Linked DNA regions of Homo sapiens: regions 1 and 3 are each linked to region 2. The links are contacts of gene promoters, found by promoter capture Hi-C in blood cells and fetal thymus (Javierre and others, 2016). All regions are on one chromosome and are shown on one strand. Each heading gives the region's core, a stretch centred on a gene start or on the middle of the fragment in contact. The rest is flanking DNA. Distances are from core to core; before and after follow the strand shown. Region 1 overlaps KLC3 (kinesin light chain 3). Region 2 holds the start of APOE (apolipoprotein E). Region 3 holds the start of PVR (PVR cell adhesion molecule).

Region 1 (2,700 bases), core at 201-2,700, 450 kb after region 2:
GAGTCTATCAGGCGAGGAAGTGAGAAGCTGGTCTCCCGGCTCCGAGGCGAGGCGGCGGCAGGAGCAGCCGGGTGAGTGTTGATCAGGTCGGCAAAGAGCCCTGACATCAGCAGAATCCACAGCCCACCCCACCCCCACCCCCATCTTGCTCAAGAACCTTCCATGGCTCCCATCTCCCCTGTGATACACACAGATCAAACCCTGTGCTGGAAAGGTCCCTCGTGGAGGGGGGCCACTCCTGGATTCACTCATTTCCTCCCTGCTGCCCTCTTTGCAGAATGAAGAGAGCCATGTCACTCAACACACTGAACGTGGATGCTCCAAGGGCTCCTGGGACTCAGGTGAGGGGGACATCTGGGTCAAAAATAGAGGAGGCCATGTGGGTAGGTGCAGAGATGAGGCAAAGGCAGGGCGGTCGGGCCAGTGGTGGAGTCAGCAGGTGGTGGGTTGGTGTCAGAAGAGACCCAGGACAGGAGCAAAGATGGGTTTTACTTGGGGTAGAGGCGAGGGGGTTGGATAGTTGGCTGCCAGGCTGGACCTGGAGCTGGAGGGTGGATGTAACACTTGCCCCTCACCTCCCCTCCAACCATCCCCTGTGCCTGTCTCCAGTTTCCCAGCTGGCACCTGGACAAGGCCCCTCGGACCCTCAGCGCCAGCACCCAGGACCTGAGCCCCCACTAACGTCCAGTGAACTGCGCTGGCCGCAGCTTCTTGGGAACAGTGCAGGAGGGATGGGCTGGTGGGGTGAGAGGGGGTCTATCATCTCCTGGCCCCCCCTTGCCTCTGGGTACCTGGTGGATAGCTGCCTTCTCCTGCGATTAAAGGCTGTGGACGTGACAGTGAGAAATGTCACCTGACTTCATAAGACCTTCTAGCACCACCGCCGCTGGGAACCAGGGCCAGGCAAGACTCAGGAGTCACCAGGAACCGTTTATGGCCCCACCCGCCCCACTCAGAGCTGCTGAGCAATCTGCTCTATCCTCTTCAGCGTCTCCTCTGATTCTAGCTGCTCCAGGCTGAGCAGGGACAGGCCCAGCTGATCCTCCTGCAGAGAACAGAGGAAAGGGAGAGGGGGGCACTGTTGGGCAGGGGCCCAGGCAGCTGCTGCACTTCCCCAACCACCCCCCCGAATGGCCAGTAGGGACAGGATGTTTGAATGAATTTGGAGATGTCCGTATAATCCAGAGCGGGCCATCCCTGTCAACATAAGATGGGGCTGAGGGAGGAGCCAGCTAGGGAGTCGGAGAAGGACCGGCTTTCTCCAGGCCAGCACCGTCTCTCCTGAAAACGCCCAATGCCTCCTCACCCCAACTTCTCTCACCCTGCCGTGCCTGGGCCACCTGCTGGCATCTGTGGCCCCTCGAATCTCCCCCTTCCCCCCAGAGCCTGGCACGTAGATGCACGATAAACTTCTCTTTGCTGAGGGCAGGAGGACAGGCAGGCTGAGGGTGGGGAGTGGGGAGAATCCAAGGGGACTTTCTGGAGGAGAAGCTCAGCCTGGGAGGGTGCCGGGAGGGGGACGCAGGCCTCACCCGGTGGAAGGGCTGTGCCATCTGCCGCAGGAAGTACTTGGCCACCTGGACACCCTCGTCCACGGTCAGGTTGAGGTTGGCATCTGTGAGGTGCTCCTGGATCCAGCGGGGCAGCTTCCCCCGCTTGTCCCCACGGGCAAACCGCTGTGGGCAGAAGCGCAGGCCAGGGACAGAAGGTCATTCGGGGAGCCTGGGCCACTCTCCACCCTGCAACCCACCCCACCTGGGAAATGAACGGGAAACAGCCTGGTTCTTGGAGCCTGGGATGGGAGCACAGGGGCACCCCTGAAGCTGCACCTTGTCGGCAAAGACCATGAGGCCGTAGTCCGTCTTGCCCCTGATGGCCCGACCCACACACTGGGCCGCGTGGCGCATGGCATCGAAGGTAAGAAAGTCATTCTCACGAATCTGGAACTGGTCCCGCAGGTATTCCAGCCGCGCCTGCAGATACGGAGGATGAGAAGCTGGGGAGGTGGGGGAGCCACTCCTCCCTTGATCCTAACACTGTGGGACTCCCTGGGAGACAGAGCTACTCACCTTGAGAATGCGGCTCTGTGTGTAGACGTAGGGGACGCCAAACATGATGACGGCCCGCCCGTAGTGGTGCACTGGTGGGCAGAGGAGAGGGGGCGAGGGGGGTTACAAGTGTGGCTGGTGGGACAGGGACAGCCTCACGCGACCCAGGATGCTGTGTCTGAGTTGGGGGGAGAGGGTGTGTTCCCGCCGGGTGCCTAGGGACAGAGGGGAGGGGAGGGCCCCTCTGTGCACCTAGGCTGGGGGTGGGTGGTTCCCCGCGGGAGCAGACAGCAGAGCGGGCAGGTGTTCCAGAGAGCTCTGGGAAGACACCTGGGGAGGAAGAGCCCAGTCCACTCACCAAAGTCGATTCCCTCGGACACTTTGCCCCGGGCCACTGACAGCAGGATGGCCCCGCGGCCATTCTCGCAGGCCTGAGGTGGGGAGACCGAGACGCAAGTTAGGTCACTCCTCAGAGCCACCTCCCCGACCCCTCTCCACGCTGGCCTCGCACACCCACCTCCTGGTACTTCTCCAGGGCGACACTGGTTTCGGCACCATCCTGGGTCTCAATAAAGAGCAGCTTGTTCCTCTGGATGTTCTCAAGGATCCCCTGGGGAAGGACCCAGGGAGGTCAGGGTGGGTTCAGGGCACA
Region 2 (2,904 bases), core at 205-2,704:
AGGTTACCAACCCCACCTCAGCCACCCCTTGCCAGCCAAAGCAAACAGGCCCGGCCCGGCACTGGGGGTTCCTTCTCGAACCAGGAGTTCAGCCTCCCCTGACCCGCAGAATCTTCTGATCCCACCCGCTCCAGGAGCCAGGAATGAGTCCCAGTCTCTCCCAGTTCTCACTGTGTGGTTTTGCCATTCGTCTTGCTGCTGAACCACGGGTTTCTCCTCTGAAACATCTGGGATTTATAACAGGGCTTAGGAAAGTGACAGCGTCTGAGCGTTCACTGTGGCCTGTCCATTGCTAGCCCTAACATAGGACCGCTGTGTGCCAGGGCTGTCCTCCATGCTCAATACACGTTAGCTTGTCACCAAACATACCCGTGCCGCTGCTTTCCCAGTCTGATGAGCAAAGGAACTTGATGCTCAGAGAGGACAAGTCATTTGCCCAAGGTCACACAGCTGGCAACTGGCAGAGCCAGGATTCACGCCCTGGCAATTTGACTCCAGAATCCTAACCTTAACCCAGAAGCACGGCTTCAAGCCCCTGGAAACCACAATACCTGTGGCAGCCAGGGGGAGGTGCTGGAATCTCATTTCACATGTGGGGAGGGGGCTCCCCTGTGCTCAAGGTCACAACCAAAGAGGAAGCTGTGATTAAAACCCAGGTCCCATTTGCAAAGCCTCGACTTTTAGCAGGTGCATCATACTGTTCCCACCCCTCCCATCCCACTTCTGTCCAGCCGCCTAGCCCCACTTTCTTTTTTTTCTTTTTTTGAGACAGTCTCCCTCTTGCTGAGGCTGGAGTGCAGTGGCGAGATCTCGGCTCACTGTAACCTCCGCCTCCCGGGTTCAAGCGATTCTCCTGCCTCAGCCTCCCAAGTAGCTAGGATTACAGGCGCCCGCCACCACGCCTGGCTAACTTTTGTATTTTTAGTAGAGATGGGGTTTCACCATGTTGGCCAGGCTGGTCTCAAACTCCTGACCTTAAGTGATTCGCCCACTGTGGCCTCCCAAAGTGCTGGGATTACAGGCGTGAGCTACCGCCCCCAGCCCCTCCCATCCCACTTCTGTCCAGCCCCCTAGCCCTACTTTCTTTCTGGGATCCAGGAGTCCAGATCCCCAGCCCCCTCTCCAGATTACATTCATCCAGGCACAGGAAAGGACAGGGTCAGGAAAGGAGGACTCTGGGCGGCAGCCTCCACATTCCCCTTCCACGCTTGGCCCCCAGAATGGAGGAGGGTGTCTGTATTACTGGGCGAGGTGTCCTCCCTTCCTGGGGACTGTGGGGGGTGGTCAAAAGACCTCTATGCCCCACCTCCTTCCTCCCTCTGCCCTGCTGTGCCTGGGGCAGGGGGAGAACAGCCCACCTCGTGACTGGGGGCTGGCCCAGCCCGCCCTATCCCTGGGGGAGGGGGCGGGACAGGGGGAGCCCTATAATTGGACAAGTCTGGGATCCTTGAGTCCTACTCAGCCCCAGCGGAGGTGAAGGACGTCCTTCCCCAGGAGCCGGTGAGAAGCGCAGTCGGGGGCACGGGGATGAGCTCAGGGGCCTCTAGAAAGAGCTGGGACCCTGGGAACCCCTGGCCTCCAGGTAGTCTCAGGAGAGCTACTCGGGGTCGGGCTTGGGGAGAGGAGGAGCGGGGGTGAGGCAAGCAGCAGGGGACTGGACCTGGGAAGGGCTGGGCAGCAGAGACGACCCGACCCGCTAGAAGGTGGGGTGGGGAGAGCAGCTGGACTGGGATGTAAGCCATAGCAGGACTCCACGAGTTGTCACTATCATTTATCGAGCACCTACTGGGTGTCCCCAGTGTCCTCAGATCTCCATAACTGGGGAGCCAGGGGCAGCGACACGGTAGCTAGCCGTCGATTGGAGAACTTTAAAATGAGGACTGAATTAGCTCATAAATGGAACACGGCGCTTAACTGTGAGGTTGGAGCTTAGAATGTGAAGGGAGAATGAGGAATGCGAGACTGGGACTGAGATGGAACCGGCGGTGGGGAGGGGGTGGGGGGATGGAATTTGAACCCCGGGAGAGGAAGATGGAATTTTCTATGGAGGCCGACCTGGGGATGGGGAGATAAGAGAAGACCAGGAGGGAGTTAAATAGGGAATGGGTTGGGGGCGGCTTGGTAAATGTGCTGGGATTAGGCTGTTGCAGATAATGCAACAAGGCTTGGAAGGCTAACCTGGGGTGAGGCCGGGTTGGGGCCGGGCTGGGGGTGGGAGGAGTCCTCACTGGCGGTTGATTGACAGTTTCTCCTTCCCCAGACTGGCCAATCACAGGCAGGAAGATGAAGGTTCTGTGGGCTGCGTTGCTGGTCACATTCCTGGCAGGTATGGGGGCGGGGCTTGCTCGGTTCCCCCCGCTCCTCCCCCTCTCATCCTCACCTCAACCTCCTGGCCCCATTCAGGCAGACCCTGGGCCCCCTCTTCTGAGGCTTCTGTGCTGCTTCCTGGCTCTGAACAGCGATTTGACGCTCTCTGGGCCTCGGTTTCCCCCATCCTTGAGATAGGAGTTAGAAGTTGTTTTGTTGTTGTTGTTTGTTGTTGTTGTTTTGTTTTTTTGAGATGAAGTCTCGCTCTGTCGCCCAGGCTGGAGTGCAGTGGCGGGATCTCGGCTCACTGCAAGCTCCGCCTCCCAGGTCCACGCCATTCTCCTGCCTCAGCCTCCCAAGTAGCTGGGACTACAGGCACATGCCACCACACCCGACTAACTTTTTTGTATTTTCAGTAGAGACGGGGTTTCACCATGTTGGCCAGGCTGGTCTGGAACTCCTGACCTCAGGTGATCTGCCCGTTTCGATCTCCCAAAGTGCTGGGATTACAGGCGTGAGCCACCGCACCTGGCTGGGAGTTAGAGGTTTCTAATGCATTGCAGGCAGATAGTGAATACCAGACACGGGGCAGCTGTG
Region 3 (3,331 bases), core at 209-2,708, 260 kb before region 2:
CCTCTGTCTATGCTGTGTCTCTATCTCTTTCAATCTCTCTGTCTCTGTCTCCCAGCCCTTATCTCTGAGTGTGTCTGTTTCTCTCTCATTTCTCTCTCTCTCTCTCTCTCTTTCTCTCTCTCTCTTTCTCTCTCTCTCTTTCTCTCTCCCCCCTCCCTCCTCCCCTCTCCCTACTGCAGGCTGGTCCATAACCCTTATCTTCCCCAGACCTGATGGAGTTCTGGTATTAATCTGTTTATGGTCTGTTTCCCTCCACTAGAACACGGTCTTCATTAAAGGCAGAGATTTTTGTCTGTCTTATTTTCTGCTGTATACCCAGTGCCTGGGATACTGGCTGGATCAATAAATATATGCTGAATGAAGAATGAATGAATGACCATTCTCATGAACATTATTATTTGATGCCAACTGTAAAGCAACAATAATAATAATTGTCACTGCCACTGCTGCTATTGTTGGTATATCAGCTTTTTATTTAGTACAAACTATATCCCCGAAATTGAGCTAGGCAGTTTCTTGTTTAAGTTTTACAGACCACGCTGTGAGGTAAGTACTGTTAGTATGCCCTTTTTTCTTTCTTTTTGAGACAGAGTCTCACTCTGTCGCCCAGGCTGGAGTGCAGAGGCCCGATCTTGGCTCACTGCAACCTCTGCCTCCCGGGTACAAGTGATTTTCCTGTCTTAGCCTCCCCAGTAGCTGGGATTACAGGCATGTGCCACCATGCCGGCTAATTTTTGTATTTTTAGTAAAGATGGGTTTTTGCCATGTTGGCCAGGCTGGTCTTGAACTCCTGGACCTCTGGTGATCCTCCTGCCTCGGCCTCCCAAAGTGCTGGGATTACAGGCGTCAGCCACTGCGCTTGCTCCCCCAGCCCCCAAACTTTTTTTTTTTTTTTTGAGACAGGTCTGGCTCTGCCACCCAAGCTGTAGTGTAGTGGCGCAATGGTAGCTCACTGAAGCCTCTAACTCCTGGGTTCACACAGTCCTCCTGCCTCAGCCTCCCAAAATGCTGGAATTCAGGCCTGAGCCACCGCGCCCTACTATGCCCATTTTTCAGATAAAGAATCTGAGGGCCCTCGAGGAGAAACCACTTGCCCAACATGAGCCCTGGTCTTGTCTGACCCCAAAGCCCATGGGAAGTTTAGGCTGCGTGGAAGGACAGCCTGGTGGGCTCAGGATCTGTCCCATCACGAGTTGGAACCTCAGCTCTGCCACTCGGCAACCGCGAGCCGTTAGTAAGTTGCTGAATCTCTCCGTGTGCCTCCGTTTCCTCACCTGGAATGTGGGCGACCTCACACAGGAAGCCGCCTCTTCTAGTGGGCACCGACGGAGCGAGCGCGCGTCTGCAGCGGGACTGAGCGCCGGGAGAGACCTGCGCAGGCGCAGGCGCGCGGGGAGGGCCAGCCTGGGTGGCCCACCCCGCGCCTGGCGGGACTGGCCGCCAACTCCCCTCCGCTCCAGTCACTTGTCTGGAGCTTGAAGAAGTGGGTATTCCCCTTCCCACCCCAGGCACTGGAGGAGCGGCCCCCCGGGGATTCCAGGACCTGAGCTCCGGGAGCTGGACTCGCAGCGACCGCGGCAGAGCGAGCGGGCGCCGGGAAGCGAGGAGACGCCCGCGGGAGGCCCAGCTGCTCGGAGCAACTGGCATGGCCCGAGCCATGGCCGCCGCGTGGCCGCTGCTGCTGGTGGCGCTACTGGTGCTGTCCTGGCCACCCCCAGGAACCGGTGAGTGACCCCCGCGCAGTCCGGTGGCCCCTGTCTGGCTCCCAGCTCCGCATCCAGGCCGGGTACTCGCCCCCTTGGGTTCCCGAAGATGACGGCCCCGCCCGGCGCCACCCACCCCCCATCTCTGCCCCGGGGTTGGAAGGAACACGGTGCGAGGGTGCGAGGGCAGGACCCTCCTCTTGGCCACCCGGAGAGCGGTCGGAGTTGGGTACAGAAATTCCTCGAAATTGGCAGCAACACGGGTCGGGCACAAGACCCTCCTCTGGGCCCCTCGGAAAGGGGATGGAGTTGGGTGAGGAAATTTCCCAAAAAGGCAAGTGAATCCCGGAAAATCAGCAGATGGTGACGCATGCCGGATTACCTTACCCAGGTTCCTGCTCAGCATACCCAGGCCATAACCCAGCAGCGTGCTGGCAGGCTGGGTCTGGACGGAGGGGATGGTTGATGTTGGGGAGGAGGACAGTGGGTGACACTTGACACCATTACCCCTCTGACCCCCAATGTCTGACTCCAGGGGCCTGGCCATTCATTCATTCTTTCATTCTTTTTTTTTTTTTTTTGAGACAGTCTCACTCCATCACCCAGGCTGGAGTGCAGTGTCCTGCTCTCGGCTCACTGCAGCCTCCTCCTCCCGAGTTCAAGCGATTCTCCTGCTTCAGCCTCCCGAGTAGCTCGGATTACAGACATGTGCCACTATGCCTGGCTAATATTTTTGTATTTTTAGTAGATACAGGATTTCACCATGTTGGCCAGGCTGGTCTCAAACTCCTGATAAATATATATATTATATATTATTATTATATATTACATATTATAGTAATATATAATAAAAATATATAATATATATTATAGTAATATATAATATATAATAAAATATATAATATATATTATAGTAATATATAATATATAATAAAATATATAATATATATTATAGTAATATATAATATATTATAATATATTATATATATTATTATAATATATAATATGTATATTATATATTATATATATTATTATAATATATAATATGTATATTATATATTATATATATTATTATAATATATAATATGTATTATGTATTATATAATTGATAATATATAATAATATATTTCTTAATAAATATATATTAAATATATTATATATTTATAACATATATTATTTATATAATAAATAATATATATTTTATTATACATTTAAAGAGTAAATAGATAACATATTTTATTATTTATTTATATGTTTTGTGTATATATATATATATATATATATATATATAGTGCGTGTGTGCGTGTATGTGTGTGTGTGTATGAGAGAGACAAGGTCTTGCTTTGTTGCCCAGGCTGGAGTGCAGTGGTACAATCCCGGCTCATTGCAAACTCGACTTCCCAGGCTCAAGCGATCCTCTCACTGTGGCTTCTGGAGTAGCTGGGATTATAGGTGCTCACCTGGCTAATTTTTTTTGTATTTTTGGTAGAGACAGGGTTTCGCTATGCTGCCCAGGCTGGTTGCAGCCAAGCACAGTGGCTCATGCCTGTAATCCCAACACTTTGGGAGGCTGTGGTGGGAGGATCACTTGAGCTTAGGAATTCAAAACCAGCCTGGGCAATATGGCA

The links. Contacts are between HindIII fragments. The CHiCAGO score rates a contact against its expected background, and 5 or more counts as called.
Region 1: a contact is called between a fragment that was not itself captured here and the fragment with the promoter of APOE in region 2, in 2 of 17 cell types (naive CD4 T cells and naive CD8 T cells). The highest score is 5.2, in naive CD4 T cells.
Region 3: the fragment with the promoter of PVR here is called in contact with the fragment with the promoter of APOE in region 2 in 1 of 17 cell types (neutrophils); the score reaches 7.1 in neutrophils.

The regions. Positions count from the first base shown.
Region 1 is chr19:45,350,677-45,353,376 of GRCh38, forward strand. It overlaps KLC3 (kinesin light chain 3), which reads left to right. Exons shown (of 13, transcript NM_177417.3): 11 at 1-71; 12 at 278-341; 13 at 610-843. The coding sequence ends at 681. It overlaps ERCC2 (ERCC excision repair 2, TFIIH core complex helicase subunit), which reads right to left. Exons shown (of 23, transcript NM_000400.4): 18 at 2,566-2,658; 19 at 2,407-2,479; 20 at 2,070-2,140; 21 at 1,830-1,973; 22 at 1,533-1,676; 23 at 1-1,045. The coding sequence ends at 953. Among named protein-coding and RNA genes, the nearest start is that of KLC3, 11 kb to the left of the region's middle. The HindIII fragment of the contact is 7,370 bases long and covers 1-2,700 here.
Region 2 is chr19:44,904,342-44,907,245 of GRCh38, forward strand. It overlaps APOE (apolipoprotein E), which reads left to right and starts at 1,455. Exons shown (of 4, transcript NM_000041.4): 1 at 1,455-1,500; 2 at 2,261-2,326. The coding sequence starts at 2,284. RefSeq lists enhancers at 772-1,574, 2,377-2,904. The HindIII fragment of the contact is 10,718 bases long and covers 1-2,904 here.
Region 3 is chr19:44,642,452-44,645,782 of GRCh38, forward strand. PVR (PVR cell adhesion molecule) reads left to right here and starts at 1,459. Exons shown (of 8, transcript NM_006505.5): 1 at 1,459-1,724. The coding sequence starts at 1,646. RefSeq lists a silencer at 1,411-1,490. The HindIII fragment of the contact is 7,623 bases long and covers 1-3,331 here.